7 separate regions of the Homo sapiens genome follow, and regions 1, 3, 4, 5, 6 and 7 are each linked to region 2. Evidence: promoter capture Hi-C in 16 types of primary human blood cells and fetal thymus (Javierre and others, 2016). All regions are on one chromosome and are shown on one strand. Each heading gives the region's core, a stretch centred on a gene start or on the middle of the fragment in contact. The rest is flanking DNA. Distances are from core to core; before and after follow the strand shown. Region 1 overlaps AKIRIN1 (akirin 1). Region 2 holds the start of CDCA8 (cell division cycle associated 8). Region 3 has its middle 6.7 kb from the start of CSF3R. Region 4 overlaps MRPS15 (mitochondrial ribosomal protein S15). Region 5 overlaps OSCP1 (organic solute carrier partner 1). Region 6 overlaps LOC124904012 (a long non-coding RNA gene). Region 7 overlaps GJA9 (gap junction protein alpha 9).

What was found. The method cuts DNA at HindIII sites, captures the fragments that hold promoters and counts their contacts. A CHiCAGO score of 5 or more calls a contact.
Region 1: a contact is called between a fragment that was not itself captured here and the fragment with the promoter of CDCA8 in region 2, in 3 of 17 cell types (fetal thymus, erythroblasts and total B cells). The highest score is 9.8, in fetal thymus.
Region 3: a fragment that was not itself captured here is called in contact with the fragment with the promoter of CDCA8 in region 2 in 2 of 17 cell types (M2 macrophages and neutrophils); the score reaches 6.8 in M2 macrophages.
Region 4: a contact is called between a fragment that was not itself captured here and the fragment with the promoter of CDCA8 in region 2, in 10 of 17 cell types (naive CD8 T cells, total CD8 T cells, fetal thymus and 7 more). The highest score is 16.7, in naive CD8 T cells.
Region 5: a fragment that was not itself captured here is called in contact with the fragment with the promoter of CDCA8 in region 2 in 2 of 17 cell types (fetal thymus and total CD8 T cells); the score reaches 5.6 in fetal thymus.
Region 6: a fragment that was not itself captured here is called in contact with the fragment with the promoter of CDCA8 in region 2 in 5 of 17 cell types (fetal thymus, total B cells, total CD8 T cells and 2 more); the score reaches 7.8 in fetal thymus.
Region 7: a contact is called between a fragment that was not itself captured here and the fragment with the promoter of CDCA8 in region 2, in 12 of 17 cell types (fetal thymus, naive CD4 T cells, total B cells and 9 more). The highest score is 25.7, in fetal thymus.

What each region holds. Positions count from the first base shown.
Region 1 is chr1:38,993,948-38,996,647 of GRCh38, reverse strand. The region is part of intron 1 of AKIRIN1 (akirin 1); the gene reads right to left. Among named protein-coding and RNA genes, the nearest start is that of AKIRIN1, 4.0 kb to the right of the region's middle. The HindIII fragment of the contact is 5,767 bases long and covers 1-2,700 here.
Region 2 is chr1:37,691,189-37,693,888 of GRCh38, reverse strand. It overlaps CDCA8 (cell division cycle associated 8), which reads right to left and starts at 1,373. Exons shown (of 10, transcript NM_001256875.2): 1 at 1,105-1,373; 2 at 856-984. The coding sequence starts at 1,198. It also overlaps a transcript of AIRIM not described here. RefSeq lists enhancers at 592-1,100, 1,101-1,611, 1,650-1,839, 1,612-2,121, 2,122-2,632 and silencers at 2,070-2,239, 2,260-2,319. The HindIII fragment of the contact is 4,527 bases long and covers 1-2,700 here.
Region 3 is chr1:36,488,214-36,490,913 of GRCh38, reverse strand. No RefSeq gene overlaps it. Among named protein-coding and RNA genes, the nearest start is that of CSF3R, 6.7 kb to the right of the region's middle. The HindIII fragment of the contact is 3,716 bases long and covers 1-2,700 here.
Region 4 is chr1:36,460,065-36,462,764 of GRCh38, reverse strand. It overlaps MRPS15 (mitochondrial ribosomal protein S15), which reads left to right. Exons shown (of 8, transcript NM_031280.4): 3 at 602-677; 4 at 1,453-1,501; 5 at 1,989-2,073. Among named protein-coding and RNA genes, the nearest start is that of MRPS15, 3.0 kb to the left of the region's middle. The HindIII fragment of the contact is 974 bases long and covers 783-1,756 here.
Region 5 is chr1:36,442,861-36,445,560 of GRCh38, reverse strand. The region is part of intron 1 of OSCP1 (organic solute carrier partner 1); the gene reads left to right. It overlaps LOC107984940 (a long non-coding RNA gene), which reads right to left. Exons shown (of 3, transcript XR_001737976.2): 2 at 828-960. Among named protein-coding and RNA genes, the nearest start is that of OSCP1, 6.2 kb to the left of the region's middle. The HindIII fragment of the contact is 924 bases long and covers 907-1,830 here.
Region 6 is chr1:36,389,662-36,392,361 of GRCh38, reverse strand. It overlaps LOC124904012 (a long non-coding RNA gene), which reads right to left. Exons shown (of 2, transcript XR_007065779.1): 2 at 1,624-2,700. Among named protein-coding and RNA genes, the nearest start is that of STK40, 5.1 kb to the right of the region's middle. The HindIII fragment of the contact is 1,444 bases long and covers 631-2,074 here.
Region 7 is chr1:38,875,423-38,878,122 of GRCh38, reverse strand. GJA9 (gap junction protein alpha 9) reads left to right here. Exons shown (of 2, transcript NM_030772.5): 2 at 1,930-2,700. The coding sequence starts at 2,025. It overlaps RRAGC-DT (RRAGC divergent transcript), which reads right to left. Exons shown (of 2, transcript NR_186075.1): 2 at 1,897-2,182. The region is part of intron 1 of GJA9-MYCBP (GJA9-MYCBP readthrough); the gene reads left to right. Among named protein-coding and RNA genes, the nearest start is that of MYCBP, 3.4 kb to the right of the region's middle. The HindIII fragment of the contact is 8,897 bases long and covers 1-2,700 here.

The DNA.
Region 1 (2,700 bases), core at 30-2,529, 1.3 Mb before region 2:
TGAGGCAGGAGAATCTCTTGAACCGGGGAGGTGGAGGTTGCACTGAGCCGAGATTGTGCCACTGCACTCCAGCCTGGGAAACACAATCAAGACTCTGCCTCAAAAAAAAAATAGAAAAACAAAACAAAAAAACAAGAGTGCTATGGGCCAGGCACTGTGGCTCATGCCTGTAATCCAGCACTTTGGAAGGCCAAGGTGGGAGGATCACTTGAGGCCAGCCTGGGCAACATAACGAGACCCAGTATTAAAAAAAAGAAAAAAAGCCTGTACATGGTGGCTCACGCCTGTAATCCCAGCACTTTGGGAGGCCTAGGCAGGTGGATCACCTGAGGTTCGAGACCAGCCTGACCAACATGGCGAAACCATCTCTACTAAAAATACAAAAATTAGCTGGGCATGGTGGTGCGCACCTGTAATCCCAGCTACTTGGGAGGCTGAGGCAGGAGAATTGCTTCAACCCAGGAGGTGGAGATTGCAGTGAGCCGAGATCACCCCATTGGACTCCAGCCTGGGCAACAGAGTAAGACACTGTCTCAAAAAACAAAACAAAACAGTGCTATGAAGTTTGTATTTTAGATTCCTGAATTTATTAAGTTTTCACCTCACTTTATTTTTTAAGAGAGTCTTACCCTGTCGCCCAGGCTGTAGTGCAATAGCACAATCTCAGTTCACTGCAACCTCTACCTCCCAGGTTCAAGCAATTCTCCTGCCTCAGCCTCCAGAGTAGTTTGGATTTCAGGAGCCCGCCACCACACCCACCTAATTTTTTGTATTTTTAGTAGAGACAGAGTTTCACAATGTTGGCCAGGCTGGTCTCAAACTCCTGACCTCAGCTGATCCGCCCGCCTCGGCCTCCCAAAGTGCTGGGAATACAGGCGTGAGCCACCGCTAGCCCCCTGTATTTTAAGATGTCTTATTCCTCAAGCCAGAGCCAATACAAGGATAAGAACTGCAAATACTTGAAACAAGAAAGGACAAGTATGAGGACAACGCTTAAGAGAACAGAAGGTCTTTGATAAACCTCTGCCTCCTGTATGGCAATGTTAACAAATGGAAAGATACAATTTTGAGGGTGGTAGGACTAAGAAGTCCAAGAATCTAAACACGGTATCCATGGGAGAAAAATAAGAAAGTTAGACATGATTTTCTTCTGTAGAAGGCCATATAAAGCACAAAATTTTTTTAAAAAGAAAAACTCAAATTTCTTTTTAACAGTGGATAATTTTAATCCTTCCCTCCATTACTTGAGGTTGTGCTGCCAGATTTTTTCCGGTCTAAGCCCATCCTCCAAACTCTACAGTGTTCCTACTGCTACAAACCAAAATTCAAACTCTTGAACATGGCAGTCAATACTTTCCAAGATGTGGCCTCAATTTATTTTCCTGGTTCCATCTGGATTCCACTATAATTTAGTTACATTACATTATTCTCTCCTTAAATTGTGGGTTTTTTGGACTTTGCTCTCATGGTTTCCCTGTGCTCGAAATGGGACTATTGCTCAAACTTGATCAAGACTCAGCTAGCCAGGCGCAGTGGCTCATGCAATCCCAGCACTTTGGGAGGCCGAGGCGGGCAGATCACCTGAGGTCAGGAGTTTGAGACCAGCTTGGCCAATACAGTGAAACCCTGTCTTGACAAAAAAAATACAAAAATTAGTAGGCCGGGTGTGGTGGCTCATGCCTGTAATCCCAGCACTTTGGGAGTCTGAGGCAGGCGGATCACCTGAGGTCAGGTGTTTGAGACCAGCCTGACCAGTATGATGAAACCCTATCTCCACTAAAAATACAAAAATTAGCTGAGAATGGTGGCATGCGCCTGTAATCCCAGCGTTCTGGGAGGCTAAGGCAGGAGAATCGCTTGAGTCTGGGAGGTGGAAGTTGCAGTGAGCCGAGATCATGCTACTGCACTCCAGCCTGGGCAACAAGAGCGAAACGTCATCTCAAAAAAAAAAAAAAAAAAAAAAAAAAAAAAAAAATTAGCCGAGCGTAGTGACACATGCCTGTAATCCCAGCCACTGGGGAGGCTGAGGCAGGAGAATCGCTTGAACATGGGAGACGGCGGTTGCAGTGAGCCAAGATCGTGCCACTACACTCCAGCCTGGGCAACAGAGTGACTCTGTCTCAAAAAACAACAAAAAAAGACTCAGCTAAAATGCTACCTTAATTCAGAAGTTATTCTCAGACTCTCAAGTCATAATCAGTTAATTGCTTTGCACATTACGTTTACAAATATTTCCTGCGGTCAGCAACCCCCTTCTTCCATGTCTGGAATTCACCTAGCACTCAATAAAGATTTAAGCAATAAAAGGCTTAGTTTTACAGGACCTTTCCACAAAAAGTACCATACAGATTGAGCATCCCTCATCCAAAATGCTTGAGACAGAAGTTTTGGATTGTGGAATAGTTGCATTATACTTACCAATTGAACATCCCTTACCCCAAATGAGAAAAACTCCAGTGAATAAGTATTTCCTTTGAGTGTCATATTGACACTCAATTTTTGGATCAGTTCAGACTTTGCAGCATTTCGGATTTCAGAAAAATTGCCCAGCTAATTTTTTAGCTTTTTTTTTTTTTTGAGATGGAGTTTCACTCTTGTCACCCAGGATGGAGTGCAATGGCCGGATCTCGGCTTACCGCAATCTCCGCCTCCCAGGTTCAAGCGATTCTCCTGCCTCAACCTCCCGAGTAGCTGGGATTA
Region 2 (2,700 bases), core at 124-2,623:
TGGGATTACAGGCGTGAGCCACCACGCCCAGCCTGATGCGCCCATTTTTAGGTTAGCAATTTCCATAAGCTGCAGAAGGAGCTGCTTCGGGTTATTCTTCTATCTGAGCTCTGGTTAACTAACCATGTCATTTATTCATTCATTTTTAAATGGGTAAAATATACATATATTTTTAAAAATACTATTTTCTGGCCGGGCGCAGTGGCTGACTCCTGTAATCCCAGCACTTTGGGAGGCCTATGTAGGTGGATCACTTGAGGTCAGGAGTTCGAGACCAGCCTGGCCAACATGGTGAAACCCCGTCTCTACTGAAAATACAAAAATCAGCGGGGCATGGTGGCAGGCGACCGTAATCCCAGCCACTCCAGAGGCTGAGGCAGGAGAATCACTTGAACCCAGAAGGTGGAGGTTGCAGTGAGCAGGGATCGCACCACTGCACTGCACTGCACTCCAGCCTGGGTGACAGAGTGAGACTCTGTTTAAAAAAAATTAAATAAATTTCCTGATGTGTGAAAATTATGTGAAATTCACATTTCAGTGTATCCATAACTAAAATTTTATTGGAATACAGCCCATCCATGCCCATTCACTACAGCTGTTTTGGACCTGTAAACAGCAGAGCTGAGTTGTCCGACAGAGACCGCCCCGCCCGCCGCCCCCCAACCACCCCCCCATTTTTCATAGAGAAAAATGAAGTAGGGAAGTGAGACAGAGAGTGAAAGGGTCTGCAATTTTCCATAAGTGGTCATGTCAGATCTCATTAAAAGGTGACATCTGAGCGAGCCCTTTCTGAAGGGTGTCACCTAACCCCAAGGGGCTCCTGGCCTCCGCCCAGGGAAGCTCTCCAGCTCTTACCGAAGTAGTCAAGCCAGTTCATCTCGCGCAGAGCCTTGGGGAGCCGCAGGATCTCGATGTTGTAGAGGTTATCCACCTCCTTGAGGAGGTTCTGCCTGTCTGACTCAATTTGCTTGATTCGTATTTCCACTGCGGGAGGGCAGAGCCGACAGGACACGGGTCACGGGCGGGCGAATCTGTGCAGCTCGTGTCCCCACCCGCCAGCATCCCGCGACCGCCCCAGGAGGCCGCGACGGCCTGGCCCCTTACCTTCACGGTCGAAGTCTTTCAGAAAGGAGGCGAGCTTCCGCCTCCGTAAGGAGTTGGTCTTGGCCACCCGACTACTGCCCTTCCTAGGAGCCATGGCGCTCGGCGGAGGCTGCGGGGAGCGGCGGAGATGGGGCAGGGAAGCAAGAAACTGGGTAGGGACGAGGAGGGCGGACGGGGACCACCCGAAGAAGTCGCCAGGCACGTACCTGCGGTCCCGAGACAAGGGCTGAGCAAAACCTCGCTGTGCCAGTGAGAGAGAGCGGCTCTACAGTCAACCGCCACCCAATTCAAACTCCACAGTCACAGGCTGACGAATGAGAAGCCGCCGTCCCACAACATCCAATCACAAGCAAGTTCCTGCCGGCCCAGGGTCTTCCGCCCAATGCGCCCCCTATAGCCTGAGTGCGACAGCGAGGCCGCCGCCGTCGCGGGTACTCCTGGGAGTTGTGGTCCAGGCTTGTTTCCCCGCCCTCCCCACCAACCCACCCGGCTCCGCCCTGGCCGGCTGCGAACTATACAAACTACTACTCCCGGCAGGCCTTGTGGCGGCTCTGCAATACCCCAAGCTCTGGAGGGCTGGGGGCCTACTAGGTCAGGTCGGCTGTAGGATTCTGCTCCAGGGTTGGCGGCTGCTTCTTTCTGGCCTGGCTGCCACTGAGTAGCCGAGGGGCCGCCGTGACCCTCTGACTGATTGACTGGCTGGCTGCCTACGTCGGCGCTCCTCAGGGCCCCAAGCTCCTCAGGCCGAACTTCGGGCAAGTGGCGGGTCGGCAGAGACAGAGCAGCCCCGGCAGGGTTTGACAGAGCAAGGGGGACGGAATGATAGAGGAGCAGGGCAGGGGTGCAGGCTTTGGGGGGGGCGCGCTATCCCGCGGCCAGTCTGGGCAGCGAGTGGGGGGAACCCTGTCGTTCCTCGCTCCCCCGCGGGCCGGCCACTCCCGCCCAGTTCGCGTGTTGGCGCCTCGACTGGGTGCGCAGCGCGGGGCTGCGACTTCAGGTGCAAGTAGTGGCGCTTGGCAGCTGGCCACACGGTGACTGCAGCATGAGCCGCGGCCACCAGGCTCCAGGGAGCCCAGGGCAGGAGGCAGCTCTGGGTGTCGTGGCCGTGGGCCTGGGAATGGGCGTGTAGACGGCGAGCCCCGCCGAGCCGCGGTCCTGTCGGAGGTGCTAACTGTGCATCTTGGTATCTGCCCACGGCCACAGGGTTGGATTGCTCAAGAGTTGTGCTGAGACCCAGAAGGCTAGAGGCTAGTTTCGAAGCTGTAGCTCAGGCTGAGTCTCAAGGCGGGCGGCGACTGGACGGCCAGACCGGCGAGCTCTTGACGGGTTTGTGGCCTGATTGTTTGGATTTGGTGCTTTTCACCTGTGGATGCGGTCTGAAGCCATGTCAGAGGGGTTGTGTTTAAGCGTGCATGTTATAGGCTATGGGAGTGATAATCTTGCCTCTCCCCCTCTGAGTTGAGGAACAATCGAAGAAATAAGCAAAGGTGCCAAGCAGGCTCCTGATGGGCACCAGCGAGCTTGGGGACAGAGCAGTCCAAGCATAGAAGTCCTGGCAAGCCTGGACCTTCCTGGAAAGTCCTTTCTCTCTCTTCC
Region 3 (2,700 bases), core at 108-2,607, 1.2 Mb after region 2:
AAAGAAGAGCCCATATGAAGGAAAACTGATTTGGTGGAAAGACAACAAAAATAAGACATGGGAAATAGGGAAGGTGGTAACGTAAGGGAGAGGTTTTGCTTGTGTTTCACCAGGAGAAAATCAGCTTCCTGTTTGGATACCCACTAGACATTTGAAGTTCTACAATGAACCCATTGGAGATGCAAAGAAAAGCGCCTCCACGGAGACGGAGACACTGCAATCAAGCACCATCAACTCACAAGATGAACAGAATGGTGATGTCAGAAGAACAGATGAAGTTGCCATCCACCAAGAAGGTGGAGGCGCCGACTTGGGCACAATTAAAGAAGCTGACACAGTTAACTAAAAAAAAAAAAGCCTAGAGAACACAAAGGTGACACAAACTCCAGAGAACATGCTGCTTGCAGCTTTGATGATTGTATCAACTGTGGTAAGTCTCCCCATGCCTGCAGGAGCAGCTGCAGCTAATTATACCTACTGGGCCTATGTGCCTTTCCCGCCCTTAATTCAGGCAGTCACATGGATGGATAATCCTGATGGGAGATAGGCTCATGAGCCTAGAACATCGTTTCCAGTTACAGTGTGACTGGGATACATCAGATTTTTGTATTACACCCCGAGTTTATAATGAGTCTGAGCATCACTGGGACATGGTTAGACGCCATCTGCAGGGAAGAGAAGATAATCCCACTTTAGACATTTCCAAATTAAAAGAACAAATTTTCGAAGCATCAAAAGCCCATTTAAATTTGGTACCAGGAACTGAGGTAATCGCGGGAGTTGCTGATGGCCTCACAAATCTTAACCCTGTCACGTGGGTTAAGACCATCGGAAGTACTACTATTGTAAATTTCATATTAATCCTTCCCCAGAGGCAGGCCCCAGTCTGCAGGTGTACCCAGCAGCTCCGAAGAGACAGCGACCATCGAGAACAAGCCATGATGACAATGGTGTTTTTGTCTAAAAGAAAAGGGGAAAATGTTGGGAAAAGAAAGAGAGATCAGACTGTTACTGTGTCTATGTAGAAAGAGGTAGACATAACAGACTCCATTTTGTTCTGTACTAAGAAAAATTCTTCTGCCTTGAGATGCTGTTAATCTGTAACCCTACCCCCAACCCTGTGCTCACAGAAACATGTGCTGTGTCGACTCAAGGTTTAATGGATTTAGGGCTATGCAGGATGCACTTTGTTAAACAAATGCTTGAAGGCAGCATGCTTGTTAAAAGTCATCACCACTCCCTAATCTCAAGTACCCAGGGACACAAAACACTGCAGAAGGCCACAGTGACCTCTGCCTAGGAAAGCCAGGTATTGTCCAAGGGTTCTCCCCATGTGATAGTCTGAAATATGGCCTCGTGGGAAGGGAAAGACCTGAGCGTCCCCCAGCCCGACACCTGTAAAGGGTCTGTGCTGAGGAGGATTAGTAAAAGAGGAAGGCCTCTTTGCAGTTGAGATAAGAGGAAGACATCTGTCTCCTGCTCCTCCCTGGGCAATGGAATGTCTCGGTGTAAAACCCGATTGTATGTTCCATCTACTGAGATAGGAGAAAACCGCCTTAAGGCTGGAGGTGAGACATGCTGGTGGCAATACTGCTCTTTAATGCATTGAGATGTTTATGTATGTGCACATCAAAGCTCAGCACCTTTTTCTTAACCTTATTTATGATACAGAGACATTTGTTCACATGTTTTCCTGCTGACCCTCTCCCCACTATTACCCTACTGTCCTGCCACAACCCCCTCTCAGAGATGGTAGAGATAATGATCAATAAATACTGAGGGAACTCAGAGACCCGTGCCTTCGCGGGTCCTCTGGAGCACCAGTCCCCTGGGCCCACTTTTCCTTCTCTATACTTTGTTTCTGTGTCTCTCTCTTTTGTCAGTCCGATGAGAAACACCCACAGGTGTGGAGGGGCAGGCCACCCCTTCAGGGTCTGGTTTTGAAGGGCCTCAAAGGACATGAGGAAGACTTAGAAATTTAGCCCATGGACAGCGAGGAACCAATGGATGGATGCCTTTTTTTTTTATTTTTTGAAGGAGTTTTGCTTTTGTCACCCACACTGGAGTGCAGTGGCATGGTCTCAGCTCACTGCAACCTCCACCTCCCGGGTTCAAGTGACTCTCCTGCCTCAGCCTCCCGAATAGCTGGGATTACGGGTGCCCACCACCACGCCTGGCTAATTTTTGTATTTTTAGTAGAGATGGGGTTTCACCATGTTGGCCAGGCTGGTCTCGAACTCCTGACCTCAGGTGATCCACCTGCCTTGGCCTCCCAAAGTGCTGGGATTACAGGCATGAGCCACAGCGTCCAGCCAATTTTCTGTTGGGTGGTGACATACTGGAATTCACAATTTGGAAGAAGCACTCCAGCTAAGTATAGCAAGGGTGTATCCCAGGAATGAAGGCAGGGAGACCAGGAGGAAGCCGAGACGTCATCCAAGGAGACAACAATGATGGACTGGCTTCCTGCAGGGGCCATAAGGTGGGAGAGAAGGGACAAATCGCACTGGAAGGAGCGACAGACTGGATGTAGGGGGTGACCAGCAGGGAGGTGTTCAGGACCAGTTTAAGTTTCTGGATTCACCAGGACAGAAAAGCAGGTTTTTAGGAGAAAACATGGAGGAGCTCAGCTGGGAGGCGTGTTTAGTTTTGATGTGTGTGGAGCTTCAAGGGGAGCTGGGGGTCTGAGAGGCAGGACTA
Region 4 (2,700 bases), core at 20-2,519, 1.2 Mb after region 2:
TACAGACAGAAGAGGCCCATTAATGTTATTTGCATAGCAGGGTCTGACTGGAGAGGATAAGTCCATCTACTCTATGCCTCTTCCTCATCTCCAAGGGATAGCAGGGGTGCACACACCAAGACTGAGGTTTTCCTGTGATCTCTACTTGGTGCTTACATTTCAGGCATCGTACAGCTAGCTGCCTTTCCTCAACCCCCTTAATTCATACATGCAGTCAGCCAGCAAGTGTTTGTTGAGTGCCTAGTCTAGGCTGAGCCATGGGCCAGACTATGGTGGATTCCAAGGGAGTCAAACTCTGTCCTATCCACAGGAGGACCCATCCTAGTGGGGGATCTGAGAACTGTAGAGCCAGATAGGTGTGTGAAAGGTGCAGGCACAGTGTAGGGTCTTGGGAAAAGCCACCTACTCGCAACATGAAATATCAAAGCAGGTGCCCACGGAGTTTGCAAAGGAGAAACTGAGCCGAGAGATATCCAGTGCTTTGCTTGAGACCCTGAATGTCCCTTCTGGAGTTGGAGAGTGGGTGAAAAGAGCCAGGTCTGGGAGGGTGGGCAGCGAGAGTTGACTCTGGGTGTTTTCTATCCCCATATTTACTTGACAGCCCAGTCTAGGCTGGATGATGACCCACCTCCCTCTACGCTGCTCAAAGACTACCAGAATGTCCCTGGAATTGAGAAGTAAGCAGGAAGAAACCTAGTAGAGGAGGCAGGGGGCCCTGGGAGGATTGTCGGGGAGTGGGGAAAGACAGTGGCTTTGAGACTTGGCTTGCTGTAGCTGAAGCTTGATCTAGAAGGAGGCAGGGGCCCAGGTGTCCAGGTGTGGTGAGGGTGGGTGGTCAGCAAGGCAGATGGCACTCATGGAGCTCGGCTACTTGGGGGTTTTTTTGTACTCTAGATGAACACCCTGTACCACTAGATTCCAAGGAGCTAACATACTTCACAGGTCTTTGTAGAAATCTCTCATCTCTTGTTCCTCACAAAAGCTGTATGTCCCCATTTTATAGATTTTCAAGCTGTCCAGTGTCATACAGTTCTAAAGGGCAGAGCTAGAGTTTGAATCCAGGGCTGACTGACACCAAAGCCAGAGGCCCTCTGCTCAGCTCCTATGCAGTGTGGTGGGAGCTGGTCAGTCCCTCCCACTGTGCAATTTAACTTGAAATGTCTCAAAACAGATTGAACCATGTTGTAGCTAAAATGGAAATCCTCTCCTTGCCCTCCCTGTGATGAGACCGGAACAGTCGAGCTGACAGCCCCAGTTTCTGTAGTTTCAGCCCAGCAAGCCAGATCCACACTGACTTTTAATCCCTGGGAAATGGCTCCCCACCTCCAGGGAGATTCATTTGCTACAGAAGGAATTTTTCAATCATCTTTGCTTTTCAAACTAAAATGAAACCAGCATTGCTTTCCTCTCTTCTCCCCCAATGTCTGTCTCATTGCTGTGGTTTATCCACAGGGTTGATGATGTCGTGAAAAGACTCTTGTCTTTGGAAATGGCCAACAAGGTGAGCAGCCTCTGCCAAGCCTCAGCCTCCCGCAGTCTTCTCCTCTGGGACTCCCTTCTACCCTGATTAGCACCCCGCATCTCATGCTTCTCCAGTCACAGCACTTAGCCCACTGTCATTCTGCCTCCATTTGTCAATATCCCTAGACAGAGCATCTTCAGGGCAGGGACACTTTTGTTCCCCCACCATACCCCTAGCACCTGACAAACAGGTGCTCAGTGAATGAATGAATGAGCATAAATGAATGAGCAAGCTTTGGGGACATTCATGCAACAAGTCATTTCCTCTGTCAGTGGCTTTGGCTTTGGGCTCACCTGGATGTGGATAGCCATGTGGTTGGTCAAGGCCACAGTGAGCAGAGTGAAGTCAGGCCCTGAGCCTTATGGCCCTAGTTGCTATAACTGTAGCCAGGGCCCTTGGGGGGAGGAGGGCTAGTTCTTAGAGGGTGGCAGACTCCACAGATTTTCTCTGTCTCTGTCTTCAACAGAAGGAGATGCTAAAAATCAAGCAAGAACAGTTTATGAAGAAGATTGTTGCAAACCCAGAGGACACCAGATCCCTGGAGGCTCGAAGTTGGTCGGGGACCCTTGGGGAGTGGGGGTGTAGGGAAGCCTGCTAGCTGGGACCTGATCTAGGGCTCTTGTCTACAAGCACATGCACATGGGCTGGGGAAAGGGAGAGACATGAAGGACCTAGGGCAATGAAAATTGGACCCTGTATCCCAAGCTCTGATGCTGGAGTCAACACCCAGTTGGACCTTGTACCACTGTGTGAGCTTGGGTAAGTCACCAACCCTCTCTTGGAGCCCCTGCTTCCTCATCTGGAAATGGGGGAATAAGGGAGAGCAGAGCAGAGGTAATGTTACCCACCTCATGGCAGCATTGTGAGAGGCAGCTAGGGGATGTAAACACACCTTGGAAACTAAAGCTCACGATGTGTGATAATAATAGTAAGACTAGGCCAGGCGCGGTGGCTCACGCCTGTAATCCCAGCACTTTGGGAGGCCAAGCAGGTGGATCACAAGGTCAGGAGATCAAGACCATCCTGGCTAACACGGTGAAACCCCGTCTCTACTAAAAATACAAAAAATTAGCCGGGCATGGTGGCGGGCGCCTGTAGTCCTAGCTACTGGGGCTGAGGCAGGAGAATGGCGTGAACCTGGGAGGCGGAGCTTGCAGTGAGCCGAGATCGCGCCACTG
Region 5 (2,700 bases), core at 119-2,618, 1.2 Mb after region 2:
CTTGCAATGGAAACCCTTTGCAGCCGGTTAGGACATGGCACTGGCCATGCTTTCAGACTGCTCTCTTGGGAGCTTTTGGTATTATGTATTGAAGCCATGTGTATACTTTGATTATAACTTCAGAAATCACCCCTAATACCACAATCTAGTGGCAAATGTTTCCAAAAGAAACTATTAATTACAAAATGGTTTTGGGGTTTTTGTTTGTTTGTTTTTGTTTTTTGAGATGGAGTGTTGCTCTGTCGCCCAGTGGCGTAGTCTCCACTCACTGCAACCTTCACCTCCTGGGTTCAAGCAATCCTCCTGCTTCAGCCTCCCAAGTAGCTGAGACTATAGGTGTGCACCACCACACCCAGCTAATTTTTGTATTTTTTGTAGAGATGAGGTTTCACCATGTTGGCCAGGCTGGTCTCGAACTCCTGACCTCAGGTGATCCGCCCATCTTGGCCTCCCAAAGTTCTGGGATTACAGGCATGAGCCACTGTGCCTCGCCAAAATGTTTTTGAAATACAGATGTGTATAGAACTTTTTTATCTAGGGGTGGTTCTTCTAGATTGAAATCTCCATCAAAAATTAAGGAAAGGAAAAAAGTCATCTTCCATCCTTTATGGGTGGTGTCTAATGTCCCTCAGTAGAGGAAACAGAACTCAAAGGGAAGCCAGCTAAGTATTTGATGTGTGTTATGCTTTATCCCCACAATAGGCCTGTAAGATAGGTGCTATTATGATCCCTATTTTACGAAGGAAACTGAGGTTAAACAAGTTGCTTGAAGTTTATATAGCCAGTAAGTAGAGCCAGGTTTCAACCCATAGAGTCTTGATTCTCACCGATTTCTCTAGCCAACTGCATTTTTCCTTATTTGGTCTCCTCTTGGGATCTCCCCAGCTGCCTTTGTCCTCAGAAGCTTTCTTCATAGTGGTCCCATCATTATTCGCTTCTTTTTACATGGAAATCATGCATCTATATATATAAAAAGTAAAACAGAAACAAATGCTGACATTTTCCTTTTAATTCACATTTCAAGTTTTCTAATTTGAGCAGTTCCATCTGTCCTCTAGAAAGGGAAATCTTACATTAATAAAAAAAAAAGAAAAGAAAAGAAAACTCAGATTGTATACAAAGAAACTCTTTTCTCTGCCTGTTCTTGGAATTATTCTTCCTCATGGAGGCTAGCGTCTTTAAAAGCCTACTACTGAATGATATGTATTCTTGTAGCATTAGAGAGCGGGGCTTCTTGGGCCTTTCAAGATGAACCACAGGATAGCTAATCCTCCTCAGTTTACTCTCTTCTTAGGCCAGTCTCTGTAAGACATAGCCTTTCTTGAGCTTTTTTGAAATATGTTGTTTATCCATCATCCTTTTAAAGGTTTCAAATAGAAGGCAGTGTGCTCACATTAGACATTAAATGCCAACGTGAAAAGTAAAGTTTCATAGATAAGATCATTGGAATTGGTATGTTTAAAGCCTCCTTGAAAATAATGTTCTTGCTTCATGAACTGGTGTTTTCTTTTTGTATGCTTCATGTAGATGAATGGACAGAGGTGGACAGAAAACGAGGTATGCTATCTCCGGGCTGCATGTGTTCAGTGTGCATCCACAGGTTCACTCAGGCCTTTATCAGCAGGGCTTAAAATGGGACCGCTTGAAACATTTCAAAGTCAAAGTAAGAAAATAGGCATGAGTTTGTCTTTAGCTGAGATATTGGTTATACATTTGAATCTTTTACTTAAGAGGAAGAAATACAGCATGTTAAGATGAAAACTAAGCAAACTCTGACCAAAAAGCCACACTGTACTTGAGGGATATGTCTCCTTTTCTCAGTTCCAAGCTTTGCTGGGACAGCTGGGGCAATAGCCATACTTTGGGGTATGTCATCCTATTTGGTAGTCCTTAAAACAACTTTGTTTTGTCATGTAACCAAAGAATTGTGCTTCAACATGAGTGACCCTCCCTGAGCCATTCTCCTAAGCTCACAGAGCAACCGAGAAAAATTGAAGCATGTAACTGCATGGCTGCCAGGACTGTGGGCAGAAGGCATGACATCATGCATGCAGTGTGGCCTCATCATGCAAAAGCTTCAGTTTCCCCTTACCTACTGCAAGCAGGAAACCTGAAAAAGTTGTCGACTCCTCAGAATAAAGCCTTAGACTTTCTCAGCCTTTAAATAAATCTCAGATACCTTCTGTCATTTGACATTTGGGTGTGGTGTGTGCCTATCATCAGCCATCCTCCTCAATATTTTAAATGCTCTCACCACACCAAGTATGCTGGGAAGACAACCTGTATAATATTTAAGAGGCCAGGTGCAGTGGCTCACACCTGTAATCCCAGCACTTTGGGAATCTGAGGCAGGAGGATCACTTGAGGTCAGGAGTTCGAGGCCAGCCTGGCCAACATGGTGAAACCCTGTCTCTACTAAAAATACAAAAATTACCTGGGCATGGTGGTGGGCACTTATAATCCCAGCTACTTGGGAGACTGAGGCAGGAGAATCACTTGAACCTGGGAGGCAGAGGTTGCAGTGAGCCGAGATCTTGCCACTGCACTCCAGCCTGGGCGACAGAGCGAGACTCCACTTCAAAAATAATAATAATAATAATAATATTTAAAAGCACAGGCATTAAATCAAACAGACCTAATTCTAATTTCAGCTCCATCACCAGCTGTGTGACCTTGGACTTTAAACTCTCTGATTCAGTT
Region 6 (2,700 bases), core at 103-2,602, 1.3 Mb after region 2:
TCAGGTGAGATTTGAACCTTTTTGCATCGGAGCTTATATCCTAGTGGGGGAGGTGGTCAAAGAAAACAAAGATGAGGCTGAACACAGTGGTTCACGCCTGTAATCTCAGTATTTTGGGAGGCTGAGGCTGATGGATCACTTGAGGCCAGGAGTTTGTGACCAGCCTGGCCAACATGGTGAAACACCATCTCTACTGAAAATAGAACAATTAGCCGGGCGTGGTGGCATGCGCTTGTAGTCCCAGCTACCCAGGAGGCTGAGGCACAAGAATTGCTTGAACCCAGGAGGCAGAGGTTGCAGTGAGCCAAGATCACGCCATGGCACTGTAGCCTGGGCAACAGAGTGAGACTGTCTCAAAAAAAAAAAAAAAAAAAAAAAAACCAAAGATGAAATCCAGCTTGAGAACTGCTGTGGCAGAGAGTTTTGAATAAAGCAGGGCCCCTGACCTTAAGATGCTACCATTCTTGAGGGAGATTTGAGAGGAATGTTCATGTGGACGTTAGCAGCCCAAGGGCACTGCATTCACATTCGAGTTCAGTCTGTGTCAGGTGTTGTCTGCAGACCACCTCATCAGGACCAACTGGGATGTGTGTAGGAAATGCACTTACCTGGCTCCTCCTTACCCAAGCTTGAATTGGAGTCTAGCACCCAGGAATCTGCATTCACATCCACCCATCCACCGTGATTCTTTTGCATACTGTATTTATTTTATTGCCTACAGGTCTAGAATCCCCTTAACTCTGCCCTTTGCCTTCAGGGAGAACGGAGGGTCCTAGCAGAGAAAACTTCTGAATTTTCCGGCCCCTCTGACAACTGGAGTTAAGAGGACTGACTGACACCACAAAGTGACTGCTGGAAAGAGAAACCAGAGGGCAGGTGCAGAGGGAAGGCCTTCGCTGTGGGAACGTCACCATACCCTCGCAAGTGGGGAGAGAGATGAGGAACTGGTGGGAGTCCCACAGCAGCTTCCCTTGCAGACCTCTCCCACATGTGTGCCCGTGTGTGAGAAATGGAAGAGGGCTTAGCTGGGGGTTCGGCTTAGGGATGCAGGAAAGGTCGAGCTCTGAGGCTGTGATGGCACACCAAGGGCTTCTCCGTCCTCAGCAGAGCAGCAAGGGAAGCAGTAAGGCTAGTGTGGGTTGCTGAGAAGACAGGCTCAAGACATGTTCCTTAAGTGTCATGTGCCAGACCCCAGTGGCCCTCTGTCATTCCTAGGCAAGGTCTTGGGAAGACAGATGATAATGAGGGGAACCAGGCCCTGCAGAGACACATTTTTGCCAAGCCCCTCGGTTAGAGCACAGCTGAGACTTTAAACCCCAAAGGTGGGTCTTTTGTAATCTGGTCTTGGCTTGCTGGAAAAGGCTATCAGGGGCCCAGGAAGGGGTTGAGAGAGCCCAGTGCCCACCAGCCTGTGGGAAGCCAGGAACTCCCCAACTGCCACTGGTCAGCCATTCCACAGGTCATTCTTGAGCACCAGCTATGTACCAGGCACAGTGGTAGCAACTGGGGAACATCAAGATGAACAAGGGTCTTGCCTCAGGAAGTGAACATTCTAGTGAGGGAAACAGATAAACTAAAAAAGTAAAAATATTTACAGGTGCCCTGAAGGAAATAAACAGGGCCTTTTGAGAGACAATAACAGGTAGTTTTATTTTGGAAAATGTAGTCTGAGGAAGTGAAATCTTTTTTTTTTAGACAGGGAGTCTTGCTCTGTTGCCCAGGCAAGAGAGCAGTGGTGCGATCATGGCTCACTGCAGCTTTGAACTCCTGGGCTCAAGCCTCAGCCTTCCAAGTAGCTGGAACTACAGGTGCATGCCACCACACACCTGTGGTGTCTTAATTTCGTAACTTTTTTTTTTTTCCCTAAGAGACAGGGTATCACTATGTTGTCCAGGCTGGTCTCAAACTTCTGGCCTCAAGCAATCCTCCTGCCTTGGCCCCAGTCACTGGGATTAAGGGCTTGAGCCACCCCACCCAGCAGGAAAGTAGTTAAACTGAGAAGAAGCCTGTCATTTAAAAAGCCAGGACAAGGCAGAGGAAACTGCCTGTGCAAAGGTCCTGGGATGGGAAAGCTTGGGGATTTGGGACAATAATAGTAACACTGTGGCTATTGGGGGAGAGGGAGGCAGATGAGAGTGGAGAAATGGGAGGGGGTGGGGCATATGACACAAGGCCTGTGGACAGAGTGTAGCTGGTTCCAGTTTCTGGTGTGCAAGAAACAGAACTTGAATTTTCTTTAACTCACTTGAATTCCTGTATTTTGCCCTACTCAGCCAGAGTGGCAGAAAGTTAATTGCGGTCAATTCACAGTTCCCCCATTTTCCTTGGCATTCTGTTGGAATTCTAGGGCTCTTCCTTTCAAGGTGCCAAAGCATGGGAAGCATAGTCTGATTTGGTCATCCAGTCACACTAGCATCCACTGAGATGTTCTCATCTGGTTGTGACCTTTTGTCATCAGCCCATGAAGGTTGCTGCTGAGTTGCTCCCCATCCCCCCACCAAAAGACCCCTCCAAGTGTAACCCATACCCCTCTCAGGTGTGCAGAGTTTTGTTTTGTTTTGTTTTGTTTTTCTGCTTTCCCCAGGCCATGTTAGGCCTAGGAAATTCTTGAGTCTTAGGTGAGTTAGGCCCTGTTTGTCCAAAATGCAGCATGCAGCCATTTCTCCAGAGGGTTTTGTGACTTCCCTGGTGCCCCACCCA
Region 7 (2,700 bases), core at 19-2,518, 1.2 Mb before region 2:
TGGGCAACAGAGTGAGACTCTGTCTCCCCCCACCAAAAAAAAAGAAAAAAAGTATACTTTTTCATAGTAAAGTATAATAAGTACTTTATACATATTCATAAATATTACTGAGATGAATTTCTGAAAATGTTCACCAATTGCCAGGAAGAAACCAGAATTTATTTCAAATTTATTTCAATTTGGATTAAAAAAACTAATCTAAATTCCTATGACAGCCAGATCTGTTTCCTCTGGTTTCACTGAATGCCATATCTTACTGAATTATCAAATGAAGCATATTCGTTTTCCTATGTGTATAAATGAGATTTAAAAATCACTGACTTTTTGACCGGGCACGGTGGCTCATGCCTGTAATCCTGGCACTTTGGGAGGCTGAGGCGGGTGGATCACGAGGTCAGGAGATCGAGATCATCCTGGCCAACATGGTGAAACCCCGTGTCTACTAAAATACAAAAAATTATCCCGGGGGGTGTTGGCAGGCGCCTGTAATCCCAGCTACTCAGGAGGATGAGGCAGGGGAATCGCTTGAACCCAGGAGGCGGAGGTTGCAATGCGCCGAGATTGCGCCACTGCACTCCAGCCTGGCGACAGAGCAAGACTCTGTCCCAAAAGAAAGAAAGAAAGAAAAAAAAATCACTGACTTTTCAAGCCAGTAATGGCATGTTGGGGAAAAAGAAATTGACTTTGTTATAACTTTTATATCAAATAATCTTAATAAATAAGGTTAAGATCAGGTTACTAGTTTTAGAAACCTTTCCAAAAGTTCTGTTGAAAAACAACAATAGGCTGGGCATGGTGGCTCACGCCTGTAATCCCAGCACTTTGGGAGGCCGAGGTGGGCAGATCACCTGAGGTCAGGAGTTCGAGACCAGCCTGGCCAACATGGAGAAACATCATCTCTACTAAAAATACAAAATTATCCGGGCATGGTGGTGCATGCCTGTAATCACAGCTACTCAGGAGGCTGAGGCAGGAGAATCGCTTGAACCCAGGAGGTGGAGGTTGCGGTGAGCTGAGATCATGCCATTGCACTCCAGCCTGGGCTACAGAGTGAGACTCCGTCTCAAAAAAAAAAAAAAAAAGAATATAATTTTAGGCCATGCGCATTGGCTCATGCCTGTAATCCCAGCACTTTGGGAGGCCGAGGTGGCCAGATCATCTGAGGTCAAGGGTTTGATCTCAGCTCACTGCAACCTCTGCCTTCCAGGTTCAAGCGATTCTCTTGCCTCAGCCTCCCGAGTAGCTGGGACTACAAGCGCCTGCCACCACGCCTGGCTAATTTTTGTATTTTTAGTAGAGGCGGGGTTTTACCATGTTGGCCAGGCTGGTCTGGAACTCCTGACCTCAAATGATCCACCCACCTTGGCCTCCCAAAGTGTTGGGATTACAGGTGTGAGCCACCCCGCCCAGCCTATATTCTTAATAGAGAATATATACACTCCTCCTCCAGGTATCATGTTTTTTTCATTGTATTGTGATGTCTAAATATAAGTGATTTTAAATTCCTGACATTTAAGTATATTATTGGTAACAGATTCACACTTTGGCCAGGTGTGGTGACCCACACCTGTAATTCCCACACTTTGGGAGGTGAAGGCAAGAGGATCACTTGAGTCTAGGAGTTTAAGACTAGCTGCAGCAATAGAGTGAGACCCTGTCTCTACAAAAAAATAAAAAAAATTATCTGGGTGTAGTTGCACACACCTGCAGTCCCAGCTACTCAGGAGGCTGAGAGGGGAGATGATCGCTTGAGTCTGGGAGGTTGAGGCTGCAGGGAGTTGTGGTTGCAACACTGTACTCCAGCCTGGGCAACAGAGGGAGACTCTGTCTCAACAAACAAACAAACAAAGAAAAAACCCCACAGCTATCTAGGGAAAAAGTAAAGCAACCAGCATATAGAAGTGACATATTGTTATATTTTCACCATAGGTTTGCTTTAAGAAATAGTGCTCCCTTCAGAATGGAAGAATTTATCTGCCTCTTATTTGATGTGGATCAGAGCTAAGATGGCTGACTAAATAAACATGGGGGACTGGAATCTCCTTGGAGATACTCTGGAGGAAGTTCACATCCACTCCACCATGATTGGAAAGATCTGGCTCACCATCCTGTTCATATTTCGAATGCTTGTTCTGGGTGTAGCAGCTGAAGATGTCTGGAATGATGAGCAGTCTGGCTTCATCTGCAATACAGAACAACCAGGCTGCAGAAATGTATGCTACGACCAGGCCTTTCCTATCTCCCTCATTAGATACTGGGTTCTGCAGGTGATATTTGTGTCTTCACCATCCCTGGTCTACATGGGCCATGCATTGTACCGACTGAGAGTTCTTGAGGAAGAGAGGCAAAGGATGAAAGCTCAGTTAAGAGTAGAACTGGAGGAGGTAGAGTTTGAAATGCCTAGGGATCGGAGGAGATTGGAGCAAGAGCTTTGTCAGCTGGAGAAAAGGAAACTAAATAAAGCTCCACTCAGAGGAACCTTGCTTTGCACTTATGTGATACACATTTTCACTCGCTCTGTGGTTGAAGTTGGATTCATGATTGGACAGTACCTTTTATATGGATTTCACTTAGAGCCGCTATTTAAGTGCCATGGCCACCCGTGTCCAAATATAATCGACTGTTTTGTCTCAAGACCAACAGAAAAGACAATATTCCTATTATTTATGCAATCTATAGCCACTATTTCACTTTTCTTAA